Linked DNA regions of Homo sapiens: region 1 is linked to region 2. The links are contacts of gene promoters, found by promoter capture Hi-C in human tissues and cell types (Jung and others, 2019). All regions are on one chromosome and are shown on one strand. Each heading gives the region's core, a stretch centred on a gene start or on the middle of the fragment in contact. The rest is flanking DNA. Distances are from core to core; before and after follow the strand shown.

Region 1 (3,962 bases), core at 1,129-3,628, 36 kb after region 2:
GCCAGTTCTTGCACTAGCACATGCTGGGGCCACCTCTTCATGCCTGAACTGAGTGAGCAGAATGGTAGCAACAGCAAGGACCAAACCATTCTCTGCTCTTCAGGAGATGTGGAAAGGACAGGTTTTCTTGCTTTGCTCTGTAAAAGCCGACTAGGCACTTGATGCATTTTTTCACTTCCTTTTATAGGGAATTGAGCCAAGGGAGAGTCTGTTTATCCTCGAGCTTACTTAAGTCAGGGAATTCTGCAGAAGCATATTCTTTGTAAGCAAATTCATCTCCAAGTTTGCTGACTGTACAGCTCGCTCATGAGTGTACCTGTCATTCCATCTTAACTGATTGACCAACTACATAGAAGGCTCAGCTTTCATGTAGCTGACAGCTCTCCATTTCAGCACTATTGGCATTATGGACTGGATAACTGTTGTTGTGGGCTGTCCTTTGCATTACAGGCTATTGAGCAGCATCGCAAGCCTCTGCTAGACGCCTGCAGAACTCCACCACCCAGCTGTAACAACCAATAATGTCTCTAGGGATTGCCAAATGCCTCCTAGGGGACAGAATTGCCTATGAATGAGAACCACTGATGTAGATTTGCAGAGGCTTTCCGTGGACCCAACCCCTATCGCAGTGCTATATTCTCCCTTTTGATTTTCTCCATTGGGCTCTTTTGCTAGGCATTGTGGTAGTGGATGCAATATGACCATTTTTCCACTCTAAATCAGTCTATGTGTAAGTATTTGCCGGGTGGTTTCATGCTTCTTCAAGGCCTCTCTAATATTCTCAAGGTGCAGACATTTTGAGATTTTCATCCTGCTACCAATTACGGTTGTGTCAGGGGAATTAGAATATTTCTTGCTTCCTTATTTTTTTGCATTTTGTTCCTAACACCTTAGTGACCCCCTTCTGGCACAGGAAAAGGAAATACACATATTTGGACTAAATTGACTTGTCTCCTCACCTTCTAGTGTACCTCTTGGACAAAATACTTTTGAAAAATAGATCTGTTTTTATTGCATTAAAGCATACATAAAATTTACCACCTTAGCCGTTTTTAAGTATAGAAGTAAGTGGCATTATATACACTGATGATGCTGTGCAACCGTCATTATCATTTCCAGAACTTTTGCATTATTTCGAATAGCAGCTCTGTACCAATTAAACAGTAATTCTCCATCTTTCCATTCTTGCAGCCCATAGCCAACATCAGTCTACTTCCTGTCTTTATGAATTTGGCTATTCTTGGTACTTCATATAGGTGGAATCACATATTATTTGACCTTTTGTATCAGGCTTATTTCACTCAGCATGATACTTTCAAGGTTAATCCATGTTGTGGCATGTGTCAGAAGTTGGCACCTTCTTATGTCAGAATAATATTCCATTGTATGAATAAACCACATGTTGTTTGCCCATTCATCCATCAATTGACATTCGAGTTGCTTTCACCTTTTGGCAATTGTGAATAATGCTGCTGTGAACATTGGTGTGCAAGTATCTGAGTCTTTGTTTTCAGTTCTTTTGGGTATATACCTAAGAGTGGGGTTGGTGCATCATATGGCAATTCTGTGTTTACCTGTTTTGAGTGAATAGACTGTACCATTTCACATGCCTGTTAGCAATGCATGAGGGTTCCAGTTTGTCCACATTTTCACCAACACGTATTTTCCATGTTTTAAAGTATGGCCATTCTAATGGATATGAAGTGGTATACTCTAATTTTGATTTGTGCTTCCCTAATGACTGTTGATGTTGGGTGTTTTTTCTTGTGCATATTGGCCATTTGGGTGTCTTTGTCTTGTCTGTGTTCGGTTGCTTATAACCAAAAATGTAAAACTGGCTAATTTATAAATAAAGGGAATGTATTTCTTACATTTATTGAGGCTGAGAAGTCTAAGGTCCAGGGGCCGTATCTTGTGAATACCTTCTTGCTGCTGGAGACTCTGCATGGTCCCAAGGCTGTGGAGGGCCTCACATGGCAAGAGGGCTGAGCACGCTAGCTCAGGTCTTTTTTCCTCTTCTTACAAAGCCATCAGTCCCACTCCCATGGTAACTCATTAATCTATTAATGAATAAATTTATTCATGAACTTAGATCCCTCATGATCCAATTACCTCTTAAAGGCCCTATCTCTCAGTACTGCCACATTGAGGATTAAGTTTCAACGTGCATTTTGGAGGGGACAAATATTGAAACGATAGCAATCTTCTTAGGAGTAATGTCTATTCAAGTCATTTGCTCCTTTTGCATTTTCTTCTTCTTGTTGAGTTGGATACTTTTAAAGAGCAGGCAAACTCCATGATCCCCTTGATTCTGAATATTCAGTCATTTAACACCAAAGATCATTAGTTTGATTAATTTACTTTCAGTGGGTTTCATACCTCTTTTGAAGGTAAGATGATGTTCAAACTGGTAGCTTGGGTCTGTCATTAGTGTTTCCCACATCAGACTGCCCTATGGTGGAATTCACACCCCAATCACCACCCTGGAGCACCCAAAGACTGTCCTGACAGAGCAGAGGCAGGAGTCCAGCCGCAGGTCTTAGTTGGGGCTAGTGTGATCCTCAGCACCACAGCTGGGATGGTGGCTGCATTGGAGGCAAGGGACACCCCTGCGCATGCGTCACTGCTTGCTCTAGCTGTGCCTGCAGGTGAAGTGACCTGTCAGAGGTCACACATAATGGTAAGTGTTAGTTCTAGTACTCCACCTGGGGACTCTGTCTATCCTGCCCCTGCTTCGCCATCAGGGGTTTATCTTGGTTGACAAAAGAGCACTGAGGTGAAGTGTAGGGAACTAGCTCCATGATAATTGGGAAAAACAATCTGATGTGCCTTAGATCATAAAACAGTGAGGCATTCTAGATGTCCAGCGCTGCTTACACTGTTTCTGTTTTTCATAAATTCTTACAATTTATAAATAGTACATTATTTTAATGAAGTCACAGTGTAAGTTGGTGTTTTACTAGGTGTATTGATTACAGTGATCTGCCAAAGTTCTTGGCTTGGAATCACAGCTTTATCACTGATTTGCTGGGTGATTTAGGGTCAGTGTCTTTGACTAGTTGAGACCAGCACAGGCTTTATAGAGCATAGATATTATTGAATGAATGAATGAATGAATGAATGGTCTCAGTATCTATAACTAATGGCAAAACTGGTGGGTCTTTTGAGTTACTTTCTGGTCTAATACACAATAATTCTAAAAATAATGATCACTCATTCTCAAACAGTAGCCACAGGATTTTCTGCCAATGTGACTGAGTATCCTGTTAATGAAACAGAACTGACATCTCCATGTGGAAGAGAGAGAAAATCTTAAACAGCTCGTTAAAGTTCTGATTGGCTGATTATAATAATCTGAGATGTTATTCCTTGCCTGTAATGTTTTCTGTGATTTTGTATTTTCTTCCCCCAAGTAAAAACAAAAACAGCCATTATTTCTTGCCTCAAATAATTATTGGACTTTTCTCTGAAATCAGTGCAAAGTCTGAGCAAAGGGCAATTTTCCTGGCTAGAATTAACATGCAATAAAATTAGTACCACAGCCTCTAGCAAGTTCATCCTTCTCTGGAATAACTCGGCTTGTTGAAACTGTCCCTGGCTTCACAGTATTTTGTACCAGCCAACCAGCTGGATAGTCAAGAAAGGTCATTATGCATTGGCAGTCCAGAAAGCGTTAAAATGTGAGCTTGGATCAGAACCTTGTGGTATTAAATACAGACTTGTGATATTAAAACAAGGCTAAGAAGAGAAGATATAATGCCACATCATGCATTTGTCACAGTGATAGATGTGCTTGCAGATATCTAGAAAAATTGTTACAGCTTATCTACTGCTCGTGATAAGGTGTCAGGGAGGCAGTGTCTTGGAGTGAGTTCATGATAACTAGAATCATGTATTGATTGGGACCACACAGAAGAGAATGCCATTATTGATCACGCGAAGAATTCCAAGAGAAGCCTAAT
Region 2 (4,146 bases), core at 365-2,864:
AATTACAATTAAACGTGTGATGAAAAAAATGGTCTTGCATGTCTTCCCTCACAGGACTCAGGATATTTTAATATCAAACTGGCTTTAAGACACTTGGAGTTAGCTTGGAGAACTGTTTTTTGCAGGTGAGACAAAGCCTGTGTGTGCATGTCCACACCTGGGGTAGGAGGAATAAAAGCGAACATTTGTACTGTTGTCAATAGTCTGCTTAATCTGCTCCTCCTAGCAATTATTTGTTACCTATTTAACCTCTGTACCGCTTTTCTCCTTCACTCTTACTTCCATTTATATTTCAACTTACTCCCAAGTATAATAAAGAATAGACTTGAATATTCAAATCATTTAAGTTTGTTGGATAATCTCTTTCAACACAAAATAGAAGCACAATGTTACTGAGAATCGTAAGCACCAAATCCCTTTTATTACAATTTCCTGCATTCTGTCATGCTTATTTGTGTTTCAGAAACAAGCTCTGCGGGGGTGGGGGGGGTGGGGGGGGTGGAGGAGATCACAACCTCAGACAGTCTGCGGTGTTCAGGGTCATGCCCGTGGCATAATTAGGAGGAACATTCGACCTGGCCCCTGGGCAGGCTGTGCCCTGCTTGGCTTGGCTTGTGAATGCAGCAGACGTGAGCCCCGTCCTGACTGCTGCTGAATCAGAGGGACAGGGGCGAAGGCCCAGAGGCCTTCCTTGGCACATGTTTTGGGTTTCGTTTTTCAACAAGACTTTGAATACGGTGATTCCACTTGCTGTATTTCACAGCAGGCTACGCATGGGGAAGTCCCGATGGGGTCAAGGAGCAGTCAAGCCAGGAGGTGATATGGAAAACTGATTTGAACGTGAAGAAGGCAATGCGAGATGCACTGGAAGACTGTGGGGAAGGATCAGGGGAGTGGTTCACTTTGAAATAAGGAAGAAAAGGAGGAAGAGAAGGTGGCAGAGATGCAGCAGAAGATACCAAGAGAGGAGGACAAGGTGGCACAAGAAGGGGAGGAGAGAGAACTTAATCTGCTCAAGTTCCAGACTGGGCAAGGGTCTTTCTTGCAGGAAGTTTACAGACATTCCAGTTTCAAATCTGAAGTGATTTTGCCTAAGGAGAAACCCTCACTACCCGCCAAAAACATGCCATCTGAACAGGGAAGGTGATGGCAAGATTGGGCAGGTGCTGTGGAGAAGACCTCTGCTGGACTTCGTGCCTCCTTAGCTCTGGAATCACAGGATCTGCAAGAGCATCTACCTGCGCTCACCAGCACGTTCCGCCAGCCTCCCTCCCCCAACCCACCTGGCCACTCTAGGACCCCTCGCACCCTGGTCCTTTGTTGCAGGCTGACATCTGCCCCACCAGAGTCAACTGTCAGCGCCTTGCACGTGAATTAGGGAAGCGGAGTAACCTGGGGTTCCATCCCTTCCCGGGTCCCTTCCAGCTTTCGCCTAGCTCCGGAGCATCCACCCATCTCAGGTCCAGGGCGTGCGTTCCCAAGGATGCTCGGCCCTCTCCCAACCCGCGGCCTCCTCCCCTCTCTCCCGCGGCTGCCGCTGCTGCCGCGAAAACCAGGAGAAGTGGAACGCGCGCGGCGAAGCGCCGCTCTCGCGGCGGCACTGGGCATGCTCCGCACCCGGGGCCGGTTTCGGCGGCGGGGCGGACGCTCCCTCACTAGCCGGGCGCCCGGGCCGGCCGCCGAGGTTTAGGTGGAGGCTGAGGCTGCCGCGCGCCGCGGGAGGAGCCTCGCCCTCGGCGGCTGAGGCGGCGGCGGCACAGGTGGCGCGGGCCGCGCGCGGGGCGCAGCTCGGGAGCGCTCGGCGCCGGGCGCCGCGGCGGCCCCAGGCTCGCGCCCGCGGCGACAGCCGGCTGAGCGGAGCTGCGGGCGCGGCGGCTGCTCTCTCAGCCCGGCCGGCTGGCGGCGGCGCCCGGAGCCCCGAGGAGCCCGCAGGAGCCCGTGGAGCCCGCGGAGCCGGGCAGGGGGCGCTGCGCTCGCCGAGCTCGGAGGGGCCGCCGGGCCGGGCGCTGCGCACTCGCGTCGGGAGCCGCCTCTCGCCCGCGGCGCTCGCCCCTGCCGCCCGCCAGCATCCCTTGTCCCGCGGCCGCGCTCAGACAACAAAAGCGGAAGATGCTGCAGTTGGGCAAGGTCAGGACCTTGCCCTGAAGCCGGGCGGCGCCGCGCACGCCTCTTCCCGGACTGAGGAGCTGTCGCCGGCGGAGGGTGCATGTTTGCGAGGAAGCCGCCGGGCGCCGCGCCTTTGGGTGAGTTGCGGGGCTGGGCGGCCGGGGCCGGGCGCAGCCTCCTCCCGGCGCCGTCCTCCTCCTCTTGCCGCTGGTGGGGGTGGTCCTGGGCTCCCGGCCGGCAGGCGGCGGCGGCGGCTGCTGCGGGGTTTCTGCCTGCCTCGGGGAGGACCGCGATCGCGCCAGGTCCCCCTCGGAAGCCGCTGTGCCTGGAAGGGGGTCCGGGGTTAGTGCCTTTCTTGGAGCGGTTACCAAGTGGCTGCCCTGCGTGCTCCCCCTCCCTGCCACCCATCTCCCCGGGAGGAAGCGTATTTAGGGCAACACCGACAATGCTGCTCCCCGCCACCCTGAGAACATACTCGGTGCATTCATGACGTCCCTAATATACGGGAGGAGACGGGGTGGGGGTGGGGAGGACTTCCCTCCAGTCTTTTGCCCTTATGTTCAATGTCATTACGATGTTTGGCTAGAACAAAATGGAAAGACTTAGTCATATGCGTCCATGGCCGTGTCTTCAGGCTCCCGCGGCTTGCCAGACCCTGAGCCCCCTTGGTCTATATTTAGCGGCTTCCCAGCAAGCCTTTGCAGCCGGCTTCACAGGTTTCGGGGGCTTCTGCGTGCTGACAATAGACAGCCAGGCTCCAGAAAGCGCCGCCTGAAAGCCAGGTTTGGAAGGCTGTGCGTGTGTATGGGAGATGAGCGATGCAAAATTGGGGTGATCCGTAATTAATGGCTGAAAGCGAAGCTGCTTTTTTCTTTTTTTCCCGACCCTCATCTTATTCTGGTGTGTAGTGTGTTTTCTTCGATTGCCACTCGGCAGGTTGAGCCTCTGCTTTCAGAATTAAGTCACTAGAAAGGTGATGCAGCCTCCCTGGTGTTTGTGGTAGGAAAACAGACTTGGGAATTTTTGGGGTGTGTGTGTGTGTGTCACAAATAACAGTTACTTCCAAAATGCCCAAAGTTGTATTTTGCTGTAACCGTGGGGGTATGAAGGGTGTGGGAGATGAGAGATAGAGGGGCAGGTTGTGTTTCCAAGGTGTTTTTTTTTCTTTTCTTTTCTTGTGTGCCTCATTTGAGCTGATCTGATTCGCCTTAGCTCTGGCAGGTGTTATTAAGATGTATTTTTACTGTGCTCAAGCAAATATGTTGATTTAGAAAACAGAGAATGTTGTCAGCATAGTATTAGGCCTGACAGGTGTAAATTTTCACTTTTAAGAACTATGTGACCAATATTTAAGAGTCTTGGGATTTTCTGCAGTGACTTCCATGAAAACAAGGAGGTGCTGAAACTCCCTAGGAGTTATCTCATTGTGCATACTTCATCAGGGGCTGAAGCTACCGAGGGCAGTCCAGCTGGTCTCTGCTGCTGGTCATTCACCTACATAATGACAAGGCTTCGGGGCTGCACCACTTCTAAAATCCCATGGAGAAGTGTTTGCTGTGACTCATATCAAGTTATGGCGGTGAACCTGTCATTATTTTGGGGATTTCTGCTACGAGACGTGTGATATATAGGGGCGAGTATCCTCAAATACGAACTAGATGCTTTAAACTGCCCTCAAATGTCTTTTATTAGCATATGGTTGCCATACGGAGAATGTTCCTACTGTTGTTGGGGAAAAATGTTAAGTGGCATCATTACTGATCTGTGGGTTCCAAGGGCTCAGGGCTTGAAGGAAGACGATTACATTCGGAGTTAAGTGTTGAAATTTGGGAGGCCTTTGATTACACTAATCACAAGTCAGTGTTGCAGGAGGACTGGCAAGGTCTATACGGCTCAAGTTGATTGAATACTGTGATTAGTCTTTAGCAATATTGCTTTAGTTTCACCTTATTCACATTCAGGGAACTTTCCGAGAGCACTTTGAACACACCGTTATGCCCACTGCATTGTTTTAATATAAAATTTCTTTCAAAAGCAATA

The links. The method cuts DNA at HindIII sites, captures the fragments that hold promoters and counts their contacts. A contact is called where the count stands out against the background at its distance.
Region 1: a contact is called between a fragment that was not itself captured here and the fragment with the promoter of CTNND2 in region 2, in 1 of the 25 tissues and cell types used here (pancreas).

Annotation. Positions count from the first base shown.
Region 1 is chr5:11,866,795-11,870,756 of GRCh38, reverse strand. The region is part of intron 1 of CTNND2 (catenin delta 2); the gene reads left to right. Among named protein-coding and RNA genes, the nearest start is that of CTNND2, 36 kb to the left of the region's middle. The HindIII fragment of the contact is 6,917 bases long and covers 1-3,962 here.
Region 2 is chr5:11,901,914-11,906,059 of GRCh38, reverse strand. CTNND2 (catenin delta 2) reads left to right here and starts at 1,614. Exons shown (of 22, transcript NM_001332.4): 1 at 1,614-2,243. The coding sequence starts at 2,207. The HindIII fragment of the contact is 17,473 bases long and covers 1-4,146 here.